Linked DNA regions of Homo sapiens: regions 1, 3 and 4 are each linked to region 2. The links are contacts of gene promoters, found by promoter capture Hi-C in human tissues and cell types (Jung and others, 2019). All regions are on one chromosome and are shown on one strand. Each heading gives the region's core, a stretch centred on a gene start or on the middle of the fragment in contact. The rest is flanking DNA. Distances are from core to core; before and after follow the strand shown. Region 1 has its middle 120 kb from the start of DOCK1. Region 2 holds the start of DOCK1 (dedicator of cytokinesis 1). Region 3 has its middle 71 kb from the start of DOCK1. Region 4 has its middle 97 kb from the start of DOCK1.

Region 1 (3,022 bases), core at 42-2,541, 120 kb before region 2:
ATTTAGGTCTTCAAAGCACCAATTTGTGTGGGCAGGGGCACAGATAATTAGCATTACAACTGCTGGCTAACATCCTGCTCTGTAAGATCTAAAGGTGTCATCTGCCTAGTGATAACAGCTGCATTATATTTAAATAATAACATGGAAAATAGAAGCTTCTCACCCAGAAGGCTCTTCACCATGAGATGCCATCTCCAGGTCCCCTTCTGTCCCAGGAAAAGAGGCCAGTGTCAAATCACTGAGCCTAATCATTTAGAATACATAGCTTTCTTTTGGAAGATTTCTGTTGAGGGTGATTTTTGAAAGAGGAAGTACAGAAATAGGATTCATTGACTCCAAGCTTCTTCTTGTAGCAATATGGCCTCCAAAGTTCATGGAGTAATCTTCTCTTCGCAGTTGGTTTTGGGGCATAGAAAGAGTTGCAGCCTTTCCTGGCTTTACACCATCCTAATCTTAGGAAGACTTCTGACTCCGGGTGGAGCTGGTTGTACACTGACTCATGGGCCTTGATTTTGGGAATGAAAGCCACTTACATTGGTGCTTTTAGCAACTTCCCAGGGACTCAAACTGCTATAGTCTAAAGGGAAATAAATGCCTTAGCCTGCTGCCATGGCTGCTACCGTGCACCAGAAAAACCTAGTGAGTAGGACATGGAGCTGCTACTTTTCCCAGGGAACCACCCAGCTTTTTAAGGCATCTAATATAAAGTCAGAGAATGAGCTAAGTCAGAGCTACTCCAGGTGTGACCCAGGGACCCACAGCTTCAAGATCACCCGAGAGGATGTTAGAAATGGGAAATCTCAGGTTCCAAGCCAGACCTGCAGAGTCCATCTTAACAACTCTCCAAGTGACTCCAATGCTCACTAAAGTTTAAGAAGCACTGAAGCACTGGGCTAAGTTACAGGTTCATGGCTTCTCTTCCATAAAACATTAAGCCCTAATATAATCAGCTTCCTGGGAAAAAAAAAAGTAAAACAAATATTCTTTATTTCTATGTATTCATTCAAGATTTGGTTGGGGCCAGGAGAGGTGGCTCACACCTATAATCCTAGCACTTTCGGAGGCCAAGGCAGGCAAATCACCTGAGGTCAGGAGTTCGAGACCAGTGTGGCCAACGTGGTGAAACCCTATCTCTACTAAAAACACAAAAATTACCCGGGTGTGGTGGCGGCCATCTGTAATCCCAGCTACTTGGAAGGCTGAGGCACAAGAATTGCTTGAACCCAGGAGGTGCAGGTTGTAGTGAGCCGAGATCACACCTCTGCACTTTAGCCTGGGTGACAGAGGAAATTCTGTCTCAAAAAAAAAAAAAAAAAAAGAATTGGTTGACAACCACTATATGTCAGGCTATGCTAGACGTGGAGATGCCATGAGAGCCCACCCTGCTCATGCCCGGTGATGGCTGTACAACACTGTGAATGCACCTGATGCCATTGAATTATACAGTTAAAAATGGTTAAAACCGGGCGGGAGGGGGAATTATATGGCAAGGCAAAAGGAAAAAAAAAAACCCACAGTCTAAAAAGAAAAAGAAAGAATCAGAACCCGACTCAGGTATACCCCTAATGTTTGAATTATCAGATAAGCAATGTAAAATAACTACAAATATTTTCTGAAGGACTCTAATGGAAAAAGTAGACAACATGCAAGAACTGATGGTAAATGTAAGCAGAGGGATAGACATTCTAAGAAAAATCAAAAGGAAATGCAAGAAATTTTTTAATTGCTGTTAGAAAAATGAAGTTTTTTTTTTTTTTGAGACAGTCTCATTTTCTTTTTTTGAGACACAGTCTTGCTCTGTCAGCCAGGTTGAAGTGCAGTGGTGATATCTCAGCTCACTGCAGTTTCCATATCCTGGGTTCAAGCGATTCTCATGCCTCAGCCTCTGGAGTAGCTGGACTTACAGGCACATGCCACCACACCCAGCTAATTTTTGTATTTTTAGTAGAAATGTGTTTCACTGTGTTGGCAAGGCTGGTCTCGAACTCCTGGTAATCCACCCACCTCGGCCTCCCAAAGTGCTGGGATTATAGGCGTGAGCCACCACACCTGGCAGAAGAATATTTCTGATGGGCCCCTCAGAAGACTGCACATGGTCAAGGAAAGAAATCAGTGAGCTTGAAAATAGGTCAATAGAGATTTCCAAACTGAAATGCAGAGAATGAACAAAACAAAACAAAACAGAACATCTGAGAACAATGGGATAATCTCAAAAGGTGTAACAAAGACACAATTAGAATAAATGGAAGAAAGAGAAAATGGAGTGGAAGAAATATGTGAAGTAATAATGGCCAAGAACTTTCCAAAATTAATGACAGACACCCAATCGCAGATTCAAAATCTCAGAGATCATCAAGCAGAATAAATAACAAAAAACTATACCTAGGCATATCATATTCAAACTACAGAAAACCAAAGACAAAGAGAAAACCTAGAAATAAGCCTGAGGGAGGAAAAAAAAACCAAACACACACACTTTACCTACAGAGGAACAAGGATAAGAATTACAGCAGATATACATCAGAGACCATAAAAGCAAGAGAGAATAGAATGAAAAATTTTCTGTTGAAAGGGTAAAATAAATCCGCCAATCTAGACTTCAATATTTGAGAAATTATCCTTCAAAAGTGAAAAAAATAAAGATTTTTCCTATAAATGTAAACTGAGAAAATTCATCACCAGCAGACCTGTCCTGCAAGAAATATTAACAGATTTTTTTTCAGGCAGAAGAAAAACGATATAGGTCAAAAACTTGAATCTACACACGAAAAAAGGAAAAGCACTGGAGAAGAAATAAATGCAAGTAAAATAAAATCTTTTTCTTATTTCTAATTGATATAAGTAATAACTATTTGTTTGAAGTAATATTAACAATGTATTGGGTGATTATAGCAAATGAGTAAGTGAAATGAATGATAGCAATGTCTCAGTATGGTAGGGAGAAATTAGGAATTCACTTTTATAAGATACCCTTACCACACATAAAGCAGAATAATTTTATCTGAAGGTAGACCTGGATGAT
Region 2 (3,010 bases), core at 365-2,864:
CAGAGTCACCAGGCCACCACTACAGCGCCTGAGCCCCGGAGGTTTCTGATTTCCACAGAAAGCTTCAAGTGCATGCTGTGTGTGAGTGAGCCTGGCCACTTCCTCTGTGGGACTTCAGTTCCTTATCAGTAAAACAGAGCCCGTGGCTTTCCATGAATGTGGGGTTGACTTACCAGAATGCTCAGGTCCCACGTTATCCTCTTGAACGCAGCAGCTTTCCTCTAACCCACGAAAATGGAAAAGCTCCTGTGCCATTCCCAAATACTTATTTAATCTGCATTCTGGGTGGCCCCTAGGGCAGGTGACGGGCATTCTCTACCGCAGGATGGTGCCCCACCTGGTCCTCCCCAGGCCCTGTGGCCATCCTGGCCACCTCCCTGTGGGCTCTCCCAGCCCTGCTGTTCAGCACTGTCCCTACCTCACAGAGGTAGGGACCTCTTTTTCTTACCTTCTTCCTTTTCTTACCTTCGTTCCTCCAATCCCTGACGGCCCCCAGACCTACTGTAGTTGTCTCTGTGTCTTCGGAGAGAAGACACCCCATTAATGTGCCATGAAACCAAATTTATTCCATTTAAAGGGCTGCCTTCATTCGGAGGCTTTGTCCATGTCTTGGTTTTAACCTCTCTTTTCTGAAATTACAGTAAAAATAAATAGGTGTGTGTTGCTTTAACTTTTCCCTTGGAGAAATCTGAAGCCCCCACCTTTTACTGTCATGGGAAACACCAGGGCCTGAGAAGAACTCCCACCTCGGGCGAGGATGCCGTTCCTGAGCCCCACGCGTGGCCTGGGCTTTCCTTTCCCTACTTCTCTCTTCCCCCGACTTCAGCAGATCCTGAGTCCCACAACTATTCTAGCATTAGCTTCTGCAAGCCCAGCTGGGCTGAGGTTTCTGCGGCTGCTTCCTCTTGGTCTCTCTGGAAAACTCCACTCATTCAGCACCCAAGCAAGAGGTCACCTGTCTGGAACGCACTCCCTCGGCAGCGCTGTGCCACCTCTTTCCACCCCATTTGAGTGGCCGGCACTTACCTGTGCTGTTTGTTACCTGACGTGTCCCTTCTCCCACCTACCAGGCAGTTGGTGCGGCGCTCCCAGCACACTCGGGCAATGAGTGGGCAGGCGCTCAGGTAACGTTTGTCGAATGAATGAATGAGCCACGTGCTCAGGAGGACCCTTTCCAGAGCCTCTGCTGGTTTGTTCTGCTCCGGGACTCTCCACCAGGGAGAAATCCGAGCTGGGGACCTCGCACCACCAGGCTCCGGCCTAAGCCCGCGCCTTGCAAGCCGCCCGTTTCCTACCTCCCGTAGAAACCCCCCGTCCGTCCCGCCCCCCTAAGGGCGCACCCCTCTCACGGCGTGAGCGCCAGCCCCGGGAGCTCCAGGAACTCAGGAGAACCCCGCGGGGGTGCCCGGGTGCGGAGCGCGGGGCTGGGCGCACTGGGACAGAGGAAGGGGAGCCCCGGCGACCGCGGGGTCGGGGCCCAGGGTCCGCGCCGAGGGCGGGCGCAGAGCCCGCGGCCGTCCCGCCTCCCGCCGGCGCTCCCGGCCTTTCCCATCCGGCCCGCGACGCTCCGCCCGCCCCGTCCCACATGACGCCGCCTCCGCCGCAAACTTTTTCCTCCCCATCCTGTCGCGGCTCGAAAGGAATGGAAAATGGCGGCCTAGACGCGGAGTTTCCTGCCCGACCCGCGGCGGCTCCGGCGGCGCCATGACGCGCTGGGTGCCCACCAAGCGCGAGGAGAAGTACGGCGTGGGTGAGCAGCGCCGCCGCCGCCGCGCCTCTCGCCCCAAGCCCAGGCTCCGGCGGGGCGGGTGTGCCGGGCGCCTGTTGCCGCCGCCCCGAGCGGCCGCCGGGCCGGGGAGAGGCGCTTCCGCCCGCGCCCGCGCCGCCGCCCCGCTCGCAATGCCCGGCGACCCCGGCCGCCCCGCGCCCCCGGCGGCGTCAGCTCCAGCCCCGGGGATGCGGGTCGGGAACACGAGGGGGTGGGGTGGGAATGGGGGCGGGCGCGTCCCTCCCTAGGGTGTCCCCTCCGACGCCCGCTCCTCTGGACCTCTGCCGTGGAGCCCCCCGGGCTACCCCCAACTCCCCGGCCCCGGCCGCTGCTATCTGCGCGGCTGGGCCCGTCAGGGAAGCCCAGGGGTCACTGTCTCGCGGCGGCTTCTGCTTCTTGGATGAACTTGCGTCCCGCGTCCGGGCTCTGGGTGGGCGGGCTCAGGTCGGCGCGGTCCCAGCGGATAATTCCGCCCTTTCCCGGCGGGGAGGAGGGGGCGCGACCTGGGTGGCCAGCGCCCCTTGCCCCTCGGCGGTCTCGCTGGGGACCGTGTGGGACCTTGGAGAGAAGGCGAGCGGCCGAGCGCCCCAGTGGCCCCAGGCCTGGAGACCCTTCCGGGAGAGCGGGGGCCTGTTTTTGCTCCGCGGCTCTTTGTCGCTTCCGAGGGGGGATGGAAGGAGTCGGGTTGCAAGTTTACATTTCGGACCCGAGTGCGCATTCCTGAGAGGGAGGCTTTCCCTTGCGGCTGAATAGACGGGCCCGTCCGCGTGGGACCCGCATCCTTGCGCCCCGGGGACCCGCAGCCGGTCGCCGAGGCCTGCGGACGCCCACCTCTTCGTGATCTGCGCGCCTGGTGTCGGGACTGGGCCGTGGCTACTCTCCTGCTCTCCCGGGTCCGGGATCTTCCCAGTTGGTTTTCGGGCTTGCTATTCCCCGTCCCACCATCCACAGACATCCTTGACCGCCTGCCTCATCCAGGCCACTCGACCCGACTGGGAAGACCTTTGGTGGTCTCGCCTCCCACAGCCCAGGCTGTGTCCTCCAAGGGCACCGTCTCAGCAGCAGCCCCGCGCCCATTCTGTGCCTGGCCCGTGCTGGACCTGCCCGACCCTCTGCTGGTGTGGTTCGAATCCTGGCTCTCTGACTTTTGGGAAGCGCCCTGGCAGCCCTTGTCCCCGGAGCGCTCTCCTTTCTGTGAACAGTTGCTTCTCTCTGCTGTCAATGACTTACAGTATGCCCTGA
Region 3 (2,891 bases), core at 280-2,779, 71 kb before region 2:
GTGTTCCCCAAAGTTCATGTGTTGGAAAATTGATCCCCAATGTGTGGGGAGGTAGGTCCTAATGAAACTTGATCCCCAACATGTGGGGAGATAGGTCCTAATGTTTGGGTTATGGGGACACTGCCCTAGTGAATGGATTAATGTTGTAACTGCAGCAGTGGGTTCCTTATAAAAGGATGAGTCTGGCCCCTTCTTTGTCTTTTGCCCTCTCTTTGCCCTTCTGCCATGCTGTGAGGCAGCTAGAAGACACTCACCAGATGCTAGCCCCTTGAACTTGTACTTCCCAGCCTTGAGAACCATAAGCCAATGAATTTCTATTCATAATAAATTACTCATCTGTGGGATTCTGTTATAGCAGCACTAAACAAACCAAGACAAAGAGCGCTTTTTTAAAAAGAAGAGTTAGCTCTCTCAAGGGTCAGAACACATAGGTTTCTGAAACCTAGAAGCCTAGTAGCATACATCAAGTCGTTTCCTGCTCCCAGAACCCTGAAATGCTCCCCTTTACTTGACAAGTGCCTAGTACCACGTGGCTACTGTTTACTGAGCTACTGAGCACTCACTATGTGCTAGGCAGTACTGTAATAAATGCTTTCTTGTCATGGTTCTTACCACCCAGTCACAGTGTTAACTAAAGTCAGAACCAGGATGCAGACTCATGCTGGTTTGATTCCAGTGCACGTGTCCTTATGGCTCCACCCCAGGGCATAGAACTGCGTGTTCTGCCTCATTTCCTATTATTAGGTATCACTTCCTAGCAGCATCCCAGGCTTTCCCGTCGCAACCTCTTGCTTCTGCTGTTCTGTCTGCAAAAATGCTACCTCACCACTGAGTCTGTGGAAAGCTGATCATCCTTCAAAATGAGACCATGTGACTCCCTTCAGAGAGACAATTTTGCAATCCCCCCATTCTCTGTGTGTCCACACCTGCTTTTCTACATGTGTTAACACCTGGTAGCTTCTTGACAAAACCACAGAAGTATTTGGAGGCTCATGGTGTCCTGGAAAGTGCCAGGACCTTCCCAAAAGAGTTTGAATCCTATTCGTGATCTGTGTTCACTATGTGAGCTTGAGTAAGTTCCTTAGATATCCTGTATATAAAGCAGGCCCACCTGGAAGTGTTCCCATGAGTTCTAATGAGAGACCACCTATGTGGCCCTCACTTCCTTCCCCTTCCCCACTGAGAGCACTTCTCATTATCTGCCTCACCTAGTAGTGAGTTGGGTATTTCTCTTGCTACCTGTATTAAATTGTGTAAGATACATGCATAGGTCATAGATCAGTCATTGTGTGTTTCCTGCTTAACTCCATATGTAGCAGGGCCTCTATTACTACCTATCAAATTGAATGAAATGCACATCTCCCCCAGCATATGGAGTAAAACACTTAGATCTCCCTCATTTATTCAATCTGGATCTCAGAATATACATTCTTAATGGGGTAAGAATTATTCGGAGTTGCTAACTTTCAGAAATAGTCTTCACATGGAACCTATAAACCTTTAGCAGGAAGCTGCATTTATGTAAATATGTGATGAATTGAAAGATTTCAGTGTATATTTTATTTTTTTTTTTACTTTTTTCTTTCTTCTCCACCCCATGGTTCTTTAGCAGTATATATTTTAAACAATGTTTCCAAGCAGAGTTCCTATGACAGCGCAGGATAGATTGGATTTAATTTTTAATATTCTGTTCTTAGTTATTAAGGACACCCCACTCTGCCCCAGCATCTCTGGAGCTACCAGCATAGAGAAGCCAAGCAGAGAAAGGAAGAGAGCATGATTCCCAGATTCTTGGTCAATGTTAACTCTCACCAGCTGTGGAATATTACACAAGTGAATAAATTCATCTAAGCCTTTATTTCCCATCTGTAAAATGAGGATAATAATAGCACTGTTCTTGCAGCAATGCTGTAAGAATTCAATTAGAAGCCGTACACAAAATCACTTGCTAATATGTCAGAAATATGATGCTAATGCTAATTATTGGTGAGGCACTATTGCAGTTCACCATAGTTCTGAGCTTCCTGAATACCTAGTAAATAGGGAAAGCCAGAGTTTACATAGTTTTTAGTGTTTAGTAAACTTAACACTTCAAGTGTTAAGAGGAAGCTTAACAGTTCTTTGAAAAAGAAACTTTAACCCTCTATACACAGAGAAATTTGTCCTGTGGATACACACAGGAGACTGGGAATTTCCTAATGAATGATGTATTTGGGGCCATTTTGGAAGGAACAAAGACCTTCTTCCTGGGAATGTTTTTCACAGTGATACCTGGTAAAAGTTGAGGGTACAATATTGGATTGCCATTCAGTAAAGGAGTTCCTTGGCAGTCAGACTTTTTGTTTCTTGCAAAGCCCTTTCTTGGGCTTCAGAATTTCTCAGTATCAGAGAATGGCTTCATTATCTATAAATCTTCCACATGGTAGAAGAGGGTGGGGGAGAGAAAAAAAGAGAGCGAGAGCTCATTTTCCTTCAGGTGTCAGCCTCACCTATCATAGGGCAGAGAATCAAGCATCCATGATTCCCTATAACTATCTTATTTGACAAGCTGGAAGAATATTAAAATCTTTACTAGAATATAGCACTTCACCAAGAGAAAAATCCCTAAGTAAAATGCTTTCTTGCTCCAAAGTAAATTATTAAGTCACAAATTTATATCAATGAGCACAAGTCTCCTTTGCCTAATGCTCAAATGTTTAGCAAATATGTGTTGGGCATCTATTATGGGCCTAACAATATTACTATTGATAAGAAGCATATAATAAAAATAATAACAAACACTTACTGGATGCTTTCTATGAGCCAAAAAACAATTCTGGATATTCTTGGTCTTAAAATATTGACATATCTCTCTCACACACACACACACACACACACACACACACCTCTGA
Region 4 (2,892 bases), core at 256-2,755, 97 kb before region 2:
GAACTTTCACTTATCTGGGAAGTAGGTCACTGTGGCTAACATCCCAAGCTCTAGAACAGACTGCCTGGATTCACTCCTTTTTTCCATCATTAACTAGCTGAGTTATTTTTAGGCATTTGCTGCATTTCACTGTCCTCTTGGTCTGTAAATGGGGATAATAACAGTCCCTACCTCATAGGGCTTTCATGAGGATTAAGTGGATGATGTTATTATGTAAAGCACTTAGAACAGTATTTAGCACAATGCAAGTGTTCAATAGATGCTAGCAAATATAATTATTAATTTCTTGTTGTGTCTAGAATAAAGCCTGGCATATAGTACGTGTATAATACATGGTACCTGCTATTCATTCCCTTGGCATCTGGAATCTGTCACTAACCTTCAGAAAAGAAAATTTCAAATTATCAGAAGGACAAAGAATTCAGAATAGACTAATGAAACTGTACCTCAGACAGTAGTCAAATAACCAGGCAAGGGGTAGAAAGGCCCATCTGCGCAGGAAGAAATGTGTATAACTACTACAGACTTTAAAATTCCATAAAGTTGCATGAGCAATTAAAACACATTAGGGACCAATTCCATATTTGCTCCCAGAATGAAATAGCATAATTGTGTCGCTACACTAATATCATCATTTCCATTTAGCTGAAAGAGTTCTCAGGTCATAAACACAATGGTTTTTCATTCTACCATGGCCAACTGCTATGAGCATAACGGAGTCCTAATGACCCAGCCAGCTTAATCAAAGCAAGGAATTTTCTTTCCAGAAGCTTCTGTCATGTGAATTGTATGATCTTAACTTAAAATTATGGCACTGCCCAAACACAAAGCAATATTCATTCACCTTTATGAAGCTCTTGGCTCTGAAGATTTAAAACACTCTGAGCCAAGTACTTAGAATTCAGGGAAACAAGAGTTTCATCAGAGTTACATCATGGGGTGATAATACTTACGAAGAACTGATCATCTTTCCTGCCCTGTAACCACATTTCACAGATGACGAAGAAGGATTTCACCTTCTGCCTTTGACATCAGCATCTTTTCTCACATTATAAATATTAGTCTCAGGCTCTTGTGGGCCCTGGTAAAATGACAAGATGCCCAAATTTGTCATGTTTCTTCCTCATTTTTATATTTCCCAAATTTTGGCAAATGTCTAACCAACAGCCTTGCCAACAGCCATGGGGTCAGTGAGACCTAAGAGATGGCCACATCCTCTACTTCTTCCTTACATCAGGCTCTGATATAACAGCTAAATATGTGACTTTGGGAAGGTCTTGAAGTCCAAGTTTACAATTCTGCTTGGCATGTGAGCAGCACTTGCTGTTGAAAGACAGAAAGAGAAGTGCTTGTCAGAAATAACTTCTTTAACAGGACATTTCTTGAAAAGAAATAAGACCATTTAATCCCATTGTTAAGCTATACTATAAGGGTCACTGCCTTCTTCTCAGGTAGGAAAATTTCATTACAAGAGACATTCTTGATGTATGTCGGTCTGAATTTTATTTGAAGATAATTCTGCACTTGTAGAAAATCTCTTTCTTCTTCCTTGAAGAAAAAGCAGCCCTGCTGTACTCTGCCACTCTTGCTAAACAGGAGGGATGTCACGAATTGCTTTGGAGTTTGACAGGAACCTGAACTTCCTGTGAATAAGATCATTATTAGAAGAATACAACTGAATAGGAAATGAATTCAAACAGGCTAAGGATGCATCAGCCTCAACTGGTTGAGTAAATTATGGCAGTCATACAATGGGACATTACCAAGCTATTTAAAAGAATGAGGCAGTTCATGAACTGATATAGAATGTTCACCAAAACAATATATTACTAAGTGCGAATAGACAGGCTATAAATTGTGGGTACAATAAGCCATTATCTGTGTGTGTGTGTGTGTGTGTGTGTGTGTGTGTGTGTGTCTGTATGTGCATGCATTTAAAAAGGAAATATATATGCCTATGCTTATATATGCATAGAATTTCAATGGAAGAATACATTAGAAATTGCTAACAGTGGTTATCTATGGAGGTAGGTAACCAAGAATCTAGTGCACTGTAGTAAAAGGGAGACTTACTTGTTAACTATATACTTCATGTATTTTTGCTGAGCTATTGTATTCTATTCAGAAAGCAAGAGTATGAGTTATATTTTTTAAAATAAAGATGATTCTACAAATGATGTTAGAACAGCTGCCATCTGTATGCCAAAATAAATAAATCTTGACCTATATAAATGTTAACCCAAAATTAATCAGAGGTTTAAATGTAAAAATACAAAACTATAAAACCATTAGATTTAAAACCTAGGAGGAAAATCATCAAGACCTGAGGTTAGGTAAAGACTTTCTTGAAATGACACCAAAATCATGATTCACTAAAAAACATCGATAAATTGGACTTTATTAAAATTAAAGACTTGTGGTCATCCAAAGGTATTGCCAAAAAAATAGAGACAAGCTATAAACTGGAAGAAAACATTTACAAATCACATATTCAACAAAGGATTTGCATCTGGAATATATACAAAACTCTCAAACCTCAACAATAAGAAATCAAACAACTCTTGTCTGGGTAGGAAGAAAAAAATAATCAGAAAAAAAGAAGAAATCAAACAACTCAATTAAAAAAAAATAGTTTTAGAGACAGGGTGTCACTATGTTGCCCAGTCTTGTCTTGAACTCCTGGCCTCAAATGATCCTTCCACCTCAGCTTTCCAAAGTACTGGAACTAAAGGCATGAGCCATCACACTTGGCCCTCAATTTTTTCAAAAACGGGAAAAGGACTTGAATAGGTACTTCACCACATACTAAATAAGGATGGTAACTTAGAGAAATACAAATTAAATCATGATAAAATACTGCTATAAACCTCTCAGAATAACCAAAATTTTTAA

Evidence for each region. Contacts are between HindIII fragments. The study calls those that stand out against the background at their distance.
Region 1: a fragment that was not itself captured here is called in contact with the fragment with the promoter of DOCK1 in region 2 in 2 of the 25 tissues and cell types used here (bladder and mesendoderm cells).
Region 3: a contact is called between a fragment that was not itself captured here and the fragment with the promoter of DOCK1 in region 2, in 4 of the 25 tissues and cell types used here (dorsolateral prefrontal cortex, heart left ventricle, mesendoderm cells and 1 more).
Region 4: a fragment that was not itself captured here is called in contact with the fragment with the promoter of DOCK1 in region 2 in 2 of the 25 tissues and cell types used here (spleen and thymus).

Annotation. Positions count from the first base shown.
Region 1 is chr10:126,787,971-126,790,992 of GRCh38, forward strand. No RefSeq gene overlaps it. Among named protein-coding and RNA genes, the nearest start is that of DOCK1, 120 kb to the right of the region's middle. The HindIII fragment of the contact is 5,265 bases long and covers 1-3,022 here.
Region 2 is chr10:126,903,814-126,906,823 of GRCh38, forward strand. It overlaps DOCK1 (dedicator of cytokinesis 1), which reads left to right and starts at 1,615. Exons shown (of 52, transcript NM_001290223.2): 1 at 1,615-1,750. The coding sequence starts at 1,705. LOC105378550 (a long non-coding RNA gene) reads right to left here and starts at 1,565. Exons shown (of 2, transcript XR_946449.3): 1 at 747-1,565; 2 at 1-629. LOC124900289 (a long non-coding RNA gene) reads left to right here and starts at 1,918. Exons shown (of 2, transcript XR_007062336.1): 1 at 1,918-3,010. RefSeq lists an enhancer at 2,636-3,010. The HindIII fragment of the contact is 5,553 bases long and covers 1-3,010 here.
Region 3 is chr10:126,833,064-126,835,954 of GRCh38, forward strand. No RefSeq gene overlaps it. Among named protein-coding and RNA genes, the nearest start is that of DOCK1, 71 kb to the right of the region's middle. The HindIII fragment of the contact is 4,715 bases long and covers 1-2,891 here.
Region 4 is chr10:126,806,591-126,809,482 of GRCh38, forward strand. No RefSeq gene overlaps it. Among named protein-coding and RNA genes, the nearest start is that of DOCK1, 97 kb to the right of the region's middle. The HindIII fragment of the contact is 7,897 bases long and covers 1-2,892 here.